Regions from separate parts of the Homo sapiens genome. Here regions 2 and 3 are each linked to region 1. The links are contacts of gene promoters, found by promoter capture Hi-C in blood cells and fetal thymus (Javierre and others, 2016). All regions are on one chromosome and are shown on one strand. The core of a region is centred on a gene start or on the middle of the fragment in contact, and the rest is flanking DNA. Distances in the headings are between cores, read along the strand shown. Region 1 holds the start of LDHAL6B (lactate dehydrogenase A like 6B). Region 2 overlaps FAM81A (family with sequence similarity 81 member A). Region 3 holds the start of FAM81A (family with sequence similarity 81 member A).

What was found. Contacts are between HindIII fragments. The CHiCAGO score rates a contact against its expected background, and 5 or more counts as called.
Region 2: a fragment that was not itself captured here is called in contact with the fragment with the promoter of LDHAL6B in region 1 in 1 of 17 cell types (naive B cells); the score reaches 5.2 in naive B cells.
Region 3: a contact is called between a fragment that was not itself captured here and the fragment with the promoter of LDHAL6B in region 1, in 1 of 17 cell types (M0 macrophages). The highest score is 5.2, in M0 macrophages.

The regions. Positions count from the first base shown.
Region 1 is chr15:59,204,989-59,208,832 of GRCh38, forward strand. LDHAL6B (lactate dehydrogenase A like 6B) reads left to right here and starts at 1,855. Exons shown (of 1, transcript NM_033195.3): 1 at 1,855-3,600. The coding sequence starts at 1,953. The coding sequence ends at 3,098. MYO1E (myosin IE) reads right to left here. Exons shown (of 28, transcript NM_004998.4): 14 at 3,693-3,844; 15 at 412-497. The HindIII fragment of the contact is 11,888 bases long and covers 1-2,628 here.
Region 2 is chr15:59,456,734-59,460,577 of GRCh38, forward strand. FAM81A (family with sequence similarity 81 member A) reads left to right here. Exons shown (of 9, transcript NM_152450.3): 2 at 1,817-1,913; 3 at 3,200-3,473. The coding sequence starts at 1,894. Among named protein-coding and RNA genes, the nearest start is that of FAM81A, 20 kb to the left of the region's middle. The HindIII fragment of the contact is 240 bases long and covers 1,514-1,753 here.
Region 3 is chr15:59,437,353-59,441,196 of GRCh38, forward strand. It overlaps FAM81A (family with sequence similarity 81 member A), which reads left to right and starts at 834. Exons shown (of 9, transcript NM_152450.3): 1 at 834-930. RefSeq lists a silencer at 532-1,061. The HindIII fragment of the contact is 883 bases long and covers 1,434-2,316 here.

The DNA of each region.
Region 1 (3,844 bases), core at 605-3,104:
TGGAATTTGGGGGCATGAAGTGTTAGGGACATAAAAGGGAGAGACTGATATAGAGAAAAGAAAGCTATTTTGAGAAACCAAATAGATTAAATGATAATCCAGACCCAATAGCATGAAGGAACAAAATGCTAACCACTAAACATCACAGGTGTTTTGTTTTGTTTTTGTTTTTTTCTTTATTAGAGACACAGTGTTCCTATGTTGCCTGGCTGGAGGGCAGTGGCTATTGACAGGAGTGATCACAGCTCAGTGCAGCCTCAAACTCCTAGGATCAAGTGATCCTCCTGCCTTAGCCTCCTGAGTAGCTGGGACTATAGGAACACACCACCACACCCAGCTCATAAGTTTGTTTTCATATTGAAAATTTCATCAAACCTATATCCCCTGTCAGCTATGGCAAAACATACTTACAGCTCGCTGCTCTGCATAAGCTCGATGAGATCCATAAAAAGCACATCCCGGTTCCTTTCACAAAAGCCATCCATGTCATAGGATACCTGGCCAAGAATGGAAAGAAATCGAATTTCATTGAACAAAATGTAATTAATTGAACAAAATCATTTATTGAACAAAAAATCTAATTTCACCAAACAAAAAACCAAAGCTGTCATGGCTACCCTCACCACAACATGTGGATTTCCAGATGTTGCATTTGGGATTTCATTGTGCACTGTCACAGGAAGGCTGTGCACGTCTTACTTGTTAGCTGACTTAGTGGGGAAGGCCTGCAGATGCTGATGAGTATCTGGCTGCCTGGATGGCCCAGCTGATCCGTAATCAGAACTCCAGCTCTCAAGTCCCCATACCCCTTCTTCAGTGGATCCATAGGGGTGTCTAAGTGACATACTCAATACTTTTCCTAAATTTTAGCTAAGCCAGAGCAAAAGTGAAGCCCCTCATGCTCAGTAATTCACTGCAATGAGCCATGTCATCTGAGGCTTTGCAGTTTCTCCCAGAAGTGGTATCAAAGTTGCACCAATCTGGCCAGAAACTCATGCTCAGATACTCTGTTTAACAAGAGATCAGCTGGGATGATGGATGAGACCAGGGGATTTCCATAGCACTAGGAAGTCCCCAAGACCACGACCTCAACTTAACTTTTTTATCATCAGCAGCCCCACACAGCCTGGCATCCAGTAGGCACCCAATACTGATGGGCTTTATAAGAACACCAAAAGTGCACTCTGGGCCTTGATTTATACTACCAGTAGGCATGGGGAGACAAGGAATGCCAGTCTGTGATTCCAGCAAGAGGCAAGACGAAAATCCATTTATTCAGCAGCTAATACATGTAGCAGGGTGATTCATTTTCCAAAAATATGCAGTAGTATGCTGAGATTTAGTGCTGGAGTGACTCCCAGCCGGCCCCTACCCTGCTGAAGCCCCAGCCGACTGTCCCAGGGTGGGTCCTGGCCAGGACTGGCACCAAGGCAGTGGAATCCTTTCAAAATAGGCCTCCAGCGCCATAGACCAGAAAGCAGGCGCCCAATTCTGGGACACTGGGAGATGGTGCAGGCAGCCACCAGTACGCAAAGCATAGAGCCCTATCCTTCCTGGCAGGGTCACGGTTCAGAAAACGTAACCTTATTTTCATCTGTAGTTAACAGAAGCATGTTTCCTCAGCATTCATATTAAAAATAAAAAACTAGTAATTCCAGGGATCTCGGTTAGCCTCTTAAGCATGTCAACTATTGATAATACTCTTAGCAAAACTAACTCCAGAAATCACTTGCTAGAGAAGCAGCCCTTCACTGCCTTAGTCTGAGCACCCACGGAAAGCACGTGTCGGAGACTCTGGCAAGGCCCGCGCAGCCGCAGTAGAGGGCCAGGGGGCGGGGCACGCGCACCTGCCGTAGAGTGCTGAAGGTCCTGCCAACGGCTCTCTTGGCGTCTCAACGTTCGGATCAGCAGCTTTTTTCCATTCTCTCTCTCCACTTCTTCAGTGAGCAGCCATGAGTTGGACTGTGCCTGTTGTGCGGGCCAGCCAGAGAGTGAGCTCGGTGGGAGCGAATTTCCTATGCCTGGGGATGGCCCTGTGTCCGCGTCAAGCAACGCGCATCCCGCTCAACGGCACCTGGCTCTTCACCCCCGTGAGCAAGATGGCGACTGTGAAGAGTGAGCTTATTGAGCGTTTCACTTCCGAGAAGCCCGTTCATCACAGTAAGGTCTCCATCATAGGAACTGGATCGGTGGGCATGGCCTGCGCTATCAGCATCTTATTAAAAGGCTTGAGTGATGAACTTGCCCTTGTGGATCTTGATGAAGACAAACTGAAGGGTGAGACGATGGATCTTCAACATGGCAGCCCTTTCACGAAAATGCCAAATATTGTTTGTAGCAAAGATTACTTTGTCACAGCAAACTCCAACCTAGTGATTATCACAGCAGGTGCACGCCAAGAAAAGGGAGAAACGCGCCTTAATTTAGTCCAGCGAAATGTGGCCATCTTCAAGTTAATGATTTCCAGTATTGTCCAGTACAGCCCCCACTGCAAACTGATTATTGTTTCCAATCCAGTGGATATCTTAACTTATGTAGCTTGGAAGTTGAGTGCATTTCCCAAAAACCGTATTATTGGAAGCGGCTGTAATCTGGATACTGCTCGTTTTCGTTTCTTGATTGGACAAAAGCTTGGTATCCATTCTGAAAGCTGCCATGGATGGATCCTCGGAGAGCATGGAGACTCAAGTGTTCCTGTGTGGAGTGGAGTGAACATAGCTGGTGTCCCTTTGAAGGATCTGAACTCTGATATAGGAACTGATAAAGATCCTGAGCAATGGAAAAATGTCCACAAAGAAGTGACTGCAACTGCCTATGAGATTATTAAAATGAAAGGTTATACTTCTTGGGCCATTGGCCTATCTGTGGCCGATTTAACAGAAAGTATTTTGAAGAATCTTAGGAGAATACATCCAGTTTCCACCATAATTAAGGGCCTCTATGGAATAGATGAAGAAGTATTCCTCAGTATTCCTTGTATCCTGGGAGAGAACGGTATTACCAACCTTATAAAGATAAAGCTGACCCCTGAAGAAGAGGCCCATCTGAAAAAAAGTGCAAAAACACTCTGGGAAATTCAGAATAAGCTTAAGCTTTAAAGTTGCCTAAAACTACCATTCCGAAATTATTGAAGAGATCATAGATACAGGATTATATAACGAAATTTTGAATAAACTTGAATTCCTAAAAGATGGAAACAGGAAAGTAGGTAGAGTGATTTTCCTATTTATTTAGTCCTCCAGCTCTTTTATTGAGCATCCACGTGCTGGACGATACTTATTTACAATTCCTAAGTATTTTTGGTACCTCTGATGTAGCAGCACTTGCCATGTTATATATATGTAGTTGGCATTTGGTTCCCAAAAAGTAGGATGTAGGTATTTATTGTGTTCTAGAAATTCCGACTCTTTTCATTAGATATATGCTATTTCTTTCATTCTTGCTGGTTTATACCTATGTTCATTTATATGCTGTAAAAAAGTAGTAGCTTCTTCTACAATGTAAAAATAAATGTACATACAAAAAAATGCAGTAGTATATACAATCTTTTGTTTTGCTTCCTTTGATAGTTAATAAATTCCGTTTGTTGAATCAATAAAATACGGCGAGCCATATGATTTGCTTCATGAGAAACCAGATCACAAACCCAAAGGCTTAAAACAGATAGACATTAAAATGGATATTGGCCATACCTTCCCAGCATAATGATGAATGATGAAGCCTTGGTTCCAACTGTTGAAGTGCTCATGACTCCCAATCTGCATCTGAAGTTTCTGGAGCAGCGTCTGATCTGCCCCCTCACCCACCGCATGCATCGTGGCGCACACGTCATCCAGGATGCTCA
Region 2 (3,844 bases), core at 384-2,883, 250 kb after region 1:
CCTGGCTAATTTTTGTATTTTTTGTAGAGATGGGATTTCGCCATGTTGCCCAGCTGGCCTCGAAATTCTGGGCTTGAACTCCTGGGCTCAAGCAATCCTCCAACTTTGGCCTCCCAAAGTGCTGGGATTACAGGCATGAGCCACAACCCATTGTTTTCTGGTTGGTTTAGATGACTTCTGCTGAGGGAAGGGATTTTAGTTTTTCCTAGTTAGGTTACTTAATTACCTAATAGATGCCAAATACATGTTTCTTAAGTTAGGCTATTCTGTAGATTAATATCTCAACTGAGATGTCTTACAACTTTAAAACTGTAAAGATTCTATGATTCTAAATAACAGCATTTCCCACACTGGCCTGATTTTATTTACGGTAGTCCCCCCTTATCGATGGTTTCACTTTCCACATTATCCAAGGTCAACCATGGTCAAAAATATTAAATAAAAAATTCTAGAAATAAACAATTCATAAGTTTTAAATTGTGTGTTGTTCTGAAATAGTGTGATGAAATCTTGTGCGATCCTGCTCCCTCCTGCCCAGAACGGGAATCATCCTCTTGTCCAGCATATCCACACCATGTATACCTGGCCCTGTGAGTCACTTAATAGCCATCTCTGTTATCAGATTGACTGTTGGGGTATTGCAGTGCTTGTGACCAAGTAACCCTTATTTTACTTCATAATAGCCCCAAAGTGCAAGAGCACTGTGCCTAATTTATGAATTAAACTTAATCATGAGTATGTATGTGTAGAAAAGAATAGTATATATAGGCTTCGGTTTCAGGCATCCACTGGGGGTCTTGGAATGTACCCCTGACAGATGAGGGAGGGCTACTGTAGTCTATATGGCAGAAATGCTTCTCTTTGACACTGAAGAACTCTTTGGGCACCATAGCTTGTTTGGCATGAATGACTTTTTTTTCCTTAAATGTAATTTGTTTAAAGTTCTTTGTCTAAGAAAATGAAATGTGCACATTTTGAAACTCCAAAAATAAAACACTAGAGAGATGACGCCAAAACAGTGATTTCAATCAGAAATGCTTTCTGAATCCAGCATCTAAATGAGAATTAATTATGGAATCAGATCATAGTTAGTAGGCATTCATTATTTTAAGGCAATTGATAGCAGTATTGAGGAACCTAAATAATAAAGTATTTTAAACATCCTCTAGTGTTTTTCACATTTCTAATGAGTTGTGGGGACCAAATGTTCCTTATATGCAAGATGAAATATGAATGATTGTATCTTATTATAAAGTTTTCAAGTTCTAATGAGGAATATCTTTCTCACTCCCTTGGTGGATAGATATCTTCCCACAAATCAGATCACATTGATCATGTGCTGTTTTATTTGAGATTAATTTAGAAATAAGTGCTCTTCATTTACCATGGAATTAGTAGTAAAAGTTTTCTGAGATCAAATTTACTGAGGTAGTTTCCTGCAAAATTCTACAGAGAAGTATAAGATTGGATAAGCCTATTAAACACTCTAGTTTCTGTTAAAAGTGGTTTCTCAAGCTTGAGATGCAGATTTGGAGTGAGGAAACTTCAGGAAACTCCATTGTACAGTCCCTGTTGGTCTGTCTTGCAAGGCTTAGCAATATTAATTTCAGAAGAGCTTTGATTTTGCTTGATTGCTTTTCTTCTTATTTGGAAACATATGCTGTTTATTTCATGTATAAGATACAAAACATTTAATAATATAACTTATCAGTGTTTCAACATAATTTATGATCCACTTAGCAACTTAATAATAAGCTTTTGAGGTTAAGTTCTAGATATAAACTGTTAAATAATTTAGTGCTTATTTTTTCAACAGATGTGAATTATTAAAAAGAAAATGGCCCAACGGAGCACTGTATTTCCTTCTCGTGTCACCAAGGAAAGGTATAATATATGGAAAATATGCATCTAAGGTATACTTTTCCTTTCCACTCATCCCATGGGGGCTGCTAGTGGGTGTGATAGTTACAAATCAAAGCTTGGGCTGTTACATTATCGGAGAATGGTTTTGTTCAAGGGCAAGAGAAACACTATTGTGTCCTCTAGCTTTCAATTTATAGGATACTGTGGACCACTCAGTGACCCCAAGAAGTAGAGATTTCACAGTAGTCCTACAGTAGACTTGAATTTCCTGTTGAGAGTGAAATATAACTCCGGGGGCTTCAGGCTAACATCCCTGTTAAGCTTTTTAAATCAGAAGTTGCAGATTAGGGGCCTATCGGCCAAAATTGGCTCATGAAGTACATTGCTTGGCCTAGCATGTTCTTAAATACTTTTTTTGGAGACAGGGTCTCACTCTGTTCCCCAGGCTAGAGTGCAGTGGCACAGTCACAGCTCACTGCAGCCTTGACCTCCTGGGCTTAGGTGATCTCCCACCTAGCCTCCTGAGTAGCTGGGACTATAGTTATGTGCCACCATGCCCAGCTAATTTTTAAATAATTTTTTTTGTAGAGATAGGGTCTCGTTGTGTTGCCCAGGCTGATCTTAAACTCCTGGGCTCAAGCAGTCCTCCCACCTCAGCCACCCAAAGTGTTGGGATTACAGGTGTGAGCCACTGTGCTGGCCTTAAATACTTTTTAAATGAATCGTTAACATTTTAAAATCAAGCGATTTCACATACAAGTCGGGATTTGCTAGCTTTTCTTGAGAAATATCAGATCATCTGGAAAAAGGGACCTGAAATCCCTGATGGTCACTCATGGGTGGAGCAGAACTGTGGCTCCCTTTAGCTGGGAAATGCCCTTTCCAGATCTCTAAATCCCTGACACTCCCTATTGCCTCATATGTAGTATGCTTCACTCATTTATGTCGCCTGCCTGACCCACGTAGGCATTGAGTTTGTAACCACTGTTTCAGAGAGGGAGGAGGAGGAGAGCATGTTAGGAGACTTTGTTAATGCACTTGATCTTGATAACATAGATTATATTGGGGAGACATCTCGGTGTACCCAACTCTGCCAGCCTCTTGCTCTTGGAAGTCATGGAGACCGCTTCTAAAACACTGAAGTCTGTGGGCATGATTATTTAAAGATCTTTCCCGGCTTGTGAAGAAAACTTTTTTAGGCAGAAATCCTGCCTCAAACCCTATTTAGCTTGTAGTTATAGATAATTTGTATTTCCAGACTTCTCTGGGAAGTTTTGAATCTGGCTTTAAACATTATTTTTTCCCAATTAACAACCCTCATGGTTCCCTTCTGCAGGCGAGTGAGAACCATGCCCCGACACAGCCAGTCCCTGACCATGGCACCATACTCATCTGTAAGCCTCGTGGAGCAGCTGGAAGACAGGATCCTCTGCCATGAGAAAACCACCGCCGCCCTCGTAGAGCACGCCTTTCGGATTAAAGATGACATTGTCAACAGTTTGCAGAAAATGCAAAACAAAGGGGGAGGTGACCGCTTGGCCAGGCTTTTCTTGGAGGAGCATATCAGAAACATAACTGCCATAGTGAAGCAACTTAATCGGGATATCGAGGTAAGGTTTGTGAAAGTCAGGTGGCCTATGTCCCTTTCCACAGAATTGCTCCATGTCAGGAGGTCACCCACATCTAACTCCTACCTCCCAGGCAGTACTGCATTTAGAACAAAGCTGTCTGTCTTGTCTATTCTTAATGATCGCCAAGGAGACAGCTTGCAGAAATATCCTAATTAAATTTATTCCAGTGTTTGATAACAGTTACTGTTAGTGTTATGTTTAATCTAAATTTACCTTGCTGATTATTAAATGATTTTATTTTGTTTGGCTCTTAATGAAGAGAGAGAAGAACTAGTCGAATAGTTTCACTCTATAATCTTTCATATCTTTGAAGACAGCTATTAAGTCAATTACTAAGGTCAGACTCTGTT
Region 3 (3,844 bases), core at 625-3,124, 230 kb after region 1:
TCGTGTCCCCCGCAACTCCGCTGAAATCCTGCCCACCGAGAGGAAGCACAATTATGAGTGAATGGGCTTGTGCGTCCTGATGAGAATCCAAAATCGAGAGGAAGGTGGAAAGAGCCAGGACGCGCTGGGAGGGGATGAAGCTGACGGGAGAAGAAAGGGCTGGGAAGAGGAGGGGTGTTCGGGGTTCTTCTTCTCGTCGTGTCTGCTGCGATGAGACACGATCCTGGGTCCCAACTGCAGGTGTCAAGGCGATTCAGTAAATGACACATGGCAGCCCCGGAGGGTTCGTTCACCTGCACAGGTGGGGCGTCACCGTGGCCTAATCAAATAACTTCTCCCCAATTTGAGGTGGGGCGGGGGAGAGAACTATTTTTGTGGGAAAGCGGTTTAGTAAATAAGGTATATTGGGGCTCTAGAGAGAATTGCAGTGCCACCACCATGGCTATGATCTCCGTCAGGCACCATTTCAACACCTCTCCAAATCAACCATCCCTACAACAGGATTTATTTTCCAATGAGCGAAATCCCCGCCCGCCAACTCCAAGGCGCTTGGATGCGAGCTCTGTGGGAAACAGCAGCGACGAGCAGAGGCTATTTTGGGTGTGGGAACGAGGAGGGAGGAGGGGCGGCGCCGCCAGGCTGGGCGCGGGTGCGCGGGGAAAGCCTCCAGCTCGGGCTGCCACGGCAACCGCGTCCAGGCAACGCGCCCGGAAGCGGCTCCGGCGGCGCGCGGCGGCTCGCGCCCCCCGGGAGCCGCGAACCCGGCCGGGCCGCGCGCCGGGCCAGGCGGCAGGCGCGCGCTGATTGGACGGCGCTCCCCGCGGCGCGGGCCCGCAGCCGGGCGCCCTGCTCAGCCAGCGCCAGCGGCCGCCGCACCCAGCCGCGCCGGCGAGGACATGGGCAGCCGCGGCGCGCCCACCCCCCGCGCCGGTGAGTGCCGCGCTCTGGGAACCCCGGCCGGGCGGCCTCTGGGGCTGGGCGGCGGGAGCTCTCTGGGACGGCCGGTGACCTTGGGGCAGCCTCTCAGGAGATAGGCGTGGGGTAGAGAGAGCTGCGCGTGGCCCATGTGACATGCCGCGGGCGAGAGGGTTAACTGCATGTGACGCGAAGGGCTGAAGTTGGGCACAGAGCGCAACTGGCGTTGCATTTTCGCGGGGGCTGCATGCTAGCGAACCAACCGACGCCCGGAGGGACTGTTTGGGGGAGCTGGGGTGGTGCACGGATTGCCAGGGGTAAAGGCGAGTCAGCCGACCCACTACTCAGAGTGAGTGACCTTGGGTAGGTTAACCATCTGCTCTTCCGCCCCTTCGCTTTTTCTCATCTTTCAAACGAGAGGCTAGGGGGTCTTTGCAGTTCCAGAATGCTGTTGTGCCATCCTACTGCGAGCTGAGAAAGAGCCCTAAAGTACGGTTCTGCAGGTACCGGAGATGCAAAGCTTAACCATGTTTATTCTAGGAGGGGTTTCCATTAATTGGCTCCTAAAGTGGTAAGAAATGTTATCGTTGTCTGGAAGATTATGGAGCAAGCAGTCGGTGGTCCGGAGAATGGCTTCTTAAGATGCACAGGTTAAAACCTCTTTGGTGCCCTAAAGACATGAACAAAATCAGGATTAATGCTCCTAAGTTCTTCTTTCCTGTAGTTAATCTAATAGGAAACTTTGTATTTGAACAGGTAAAATCAAAACCCAATCGTGGCAGGCAGCAGCAAATTAAGTGAGTCATTTCTTCAATGTGCACGAGGTTTATGTGTGTGTGTGCGCGCGTGTGTGTGTGTGCGTGTGTGCGCGTGCGCTCTCGTCCTCAGCTCAAAGTCTGCGTACGGCAGTGTTGGAAATTATTTCATAGGAGTAACCAGAAATAATGCTAGAATGATTCGAATCCACAAAAGTGCAGCTCTCTCAGAAGCAAGGGCAAACATTTGCAACTTGCTTTTAAAATAAGAGGTTTGTAGAGTAAATATATTCTTTATTGAGAACCATCCCCAGATTTGCACATTGTATCTGCCTTCTGGGCCCTGTCACTGAATGCGCGTGTGTGTATGTGTGTGTGTGTGTGTTGGGGGGGGCGGGTTCCTTGGCACTTATAATATTTTTAGCGTTGACTGGTACTAAAAAGGACACTTAGGCCCCCTTCCATATCCACTGTCTATAAACTTCCCTCTTCCACGGAGGGGAATGGAGGACGTACCCTCTCACAGGTACCCCTGGTTGCCCCTTCTGACTTTCTACTTAAAGCTACCCTTGATTTTCATTCGAATCTGATTTCATCTGTATAAGAACGTGGGTTGGGAAGACACAGTTTCCAATGCTAATGAATAAGCTTCTGCAAGCTTGTTTACCTGAGGGCTTAATAACCTTTAATGTGTTACATGTTAGAAATCTGATAGCATACGGATAGAAAAATACTTAGTGTCCAGGAATTCAACCATGAAGCCCTACCAACCATTTAATGAGCCACACTACATGGTGCTTGGAAACGTTATTAGCGCATTATTCAGCCTCCTCTCTCTGCAGGCCACTAGGCTGTGTCACTCCGACCTGGCTTTAAATGTCTTGTTTCTTGTATCCTGCAGCCACACTCTTGCATTTTCATTTTTTATGTAGCTGAACCCACCTTCTCTCCCGAGCACCAGAGCCTGAGTGAACAACTTGCCGCAGAAGAGCCTTCTCTAGTGTCCTCCACCGTCTCACCAGAGTAGGGATGCTCTTCCGCTTCTCCTTAGTGCTGCCTCCAAACCAATGCACCATCACCAACCAAGTCTCCTCTCGGAAGGTAGTGCTATCTGCTTGTGCCCCTACCCTCCTTCTTATCTTCTGGTCCAGTGCTTCCCAAACCTGGGGGCTCCTCAGAATCACCTGGGACATTTTGAAAAACTTGGTCTTTAGACTCTCTCAGATATACCAAATTAGAATCATTGGGGGCTGGGGCAGGGTGGGGGAGTAAGACCTAAAAATCCCTACTTTAAAAACAAACCCCAAAAGGAGGAGCAGCAGGAGACGATGAAGAGAAGGAACAGAACTCTCTGGGCAATTCTGATGTACACCCAGGTACAGTGGGGATCTCTTCACTTGATGCCCCAAAAAAGGGATAAACAAACAAAAAACGTGAGCAGCCAGCTTCATTCTCTTCTCTGCTTTGTCTCTTGCCAGTGACTTTGGGTTTTGTGTTGAAGCTCTCTTAATTCTTTGACCTTGAAGTTCCTCAACATCTATCCCAGTAGCCTCAGTTTCCACTTTGCTTCAACTAACATCTTGGACTTGTTCAGTCTTGAACAAGACTAAACCTTTGAGATCTTGAACTCGGACTTCAGCCTACTTAGCTGATACTACCCACATACTGCTCTGGATTTTAACCATCGCTGAGGACCCTGGTCCCTTAAGCACTTGCTGTTCCAATCCTTCAGCCCCTCTGTGACTCTGTTTCTCCACTTGGGGCATGTAAGTTGCTGGCCATTTCCATTCTGTCTGGGATCCCAGAATCCTTTGTTTCAATGTGTTGGGCTTCTTATATTTCAGTCCTCAATCCAAAATCACCCCCGCTTGCCTGCTTATTCTTCTCCCAGCCTGCCACATTATCTAGGAGGAAGTCACAAAGACCTTTGGACAGGTTCCATTGAAAATTTACGTTGGCTCTAATTTCACCAGATAAATTCCCACTTTACCTTCCTCAAGGCCCCCAAGCATCTTTCTCTTCCTCTCTTTGTCCTTCTTTATTTCGTCTTTCTCAAAGGAAGAAAATGTCTACAAGTCCCTTCCCCAAGGTTAATCCACATGCAATCCACACTCTTCATTCTCTGGACTTGATTCCTTCCTTCTCACCTCTTTTGGGAACTGGCTGCATTTGTT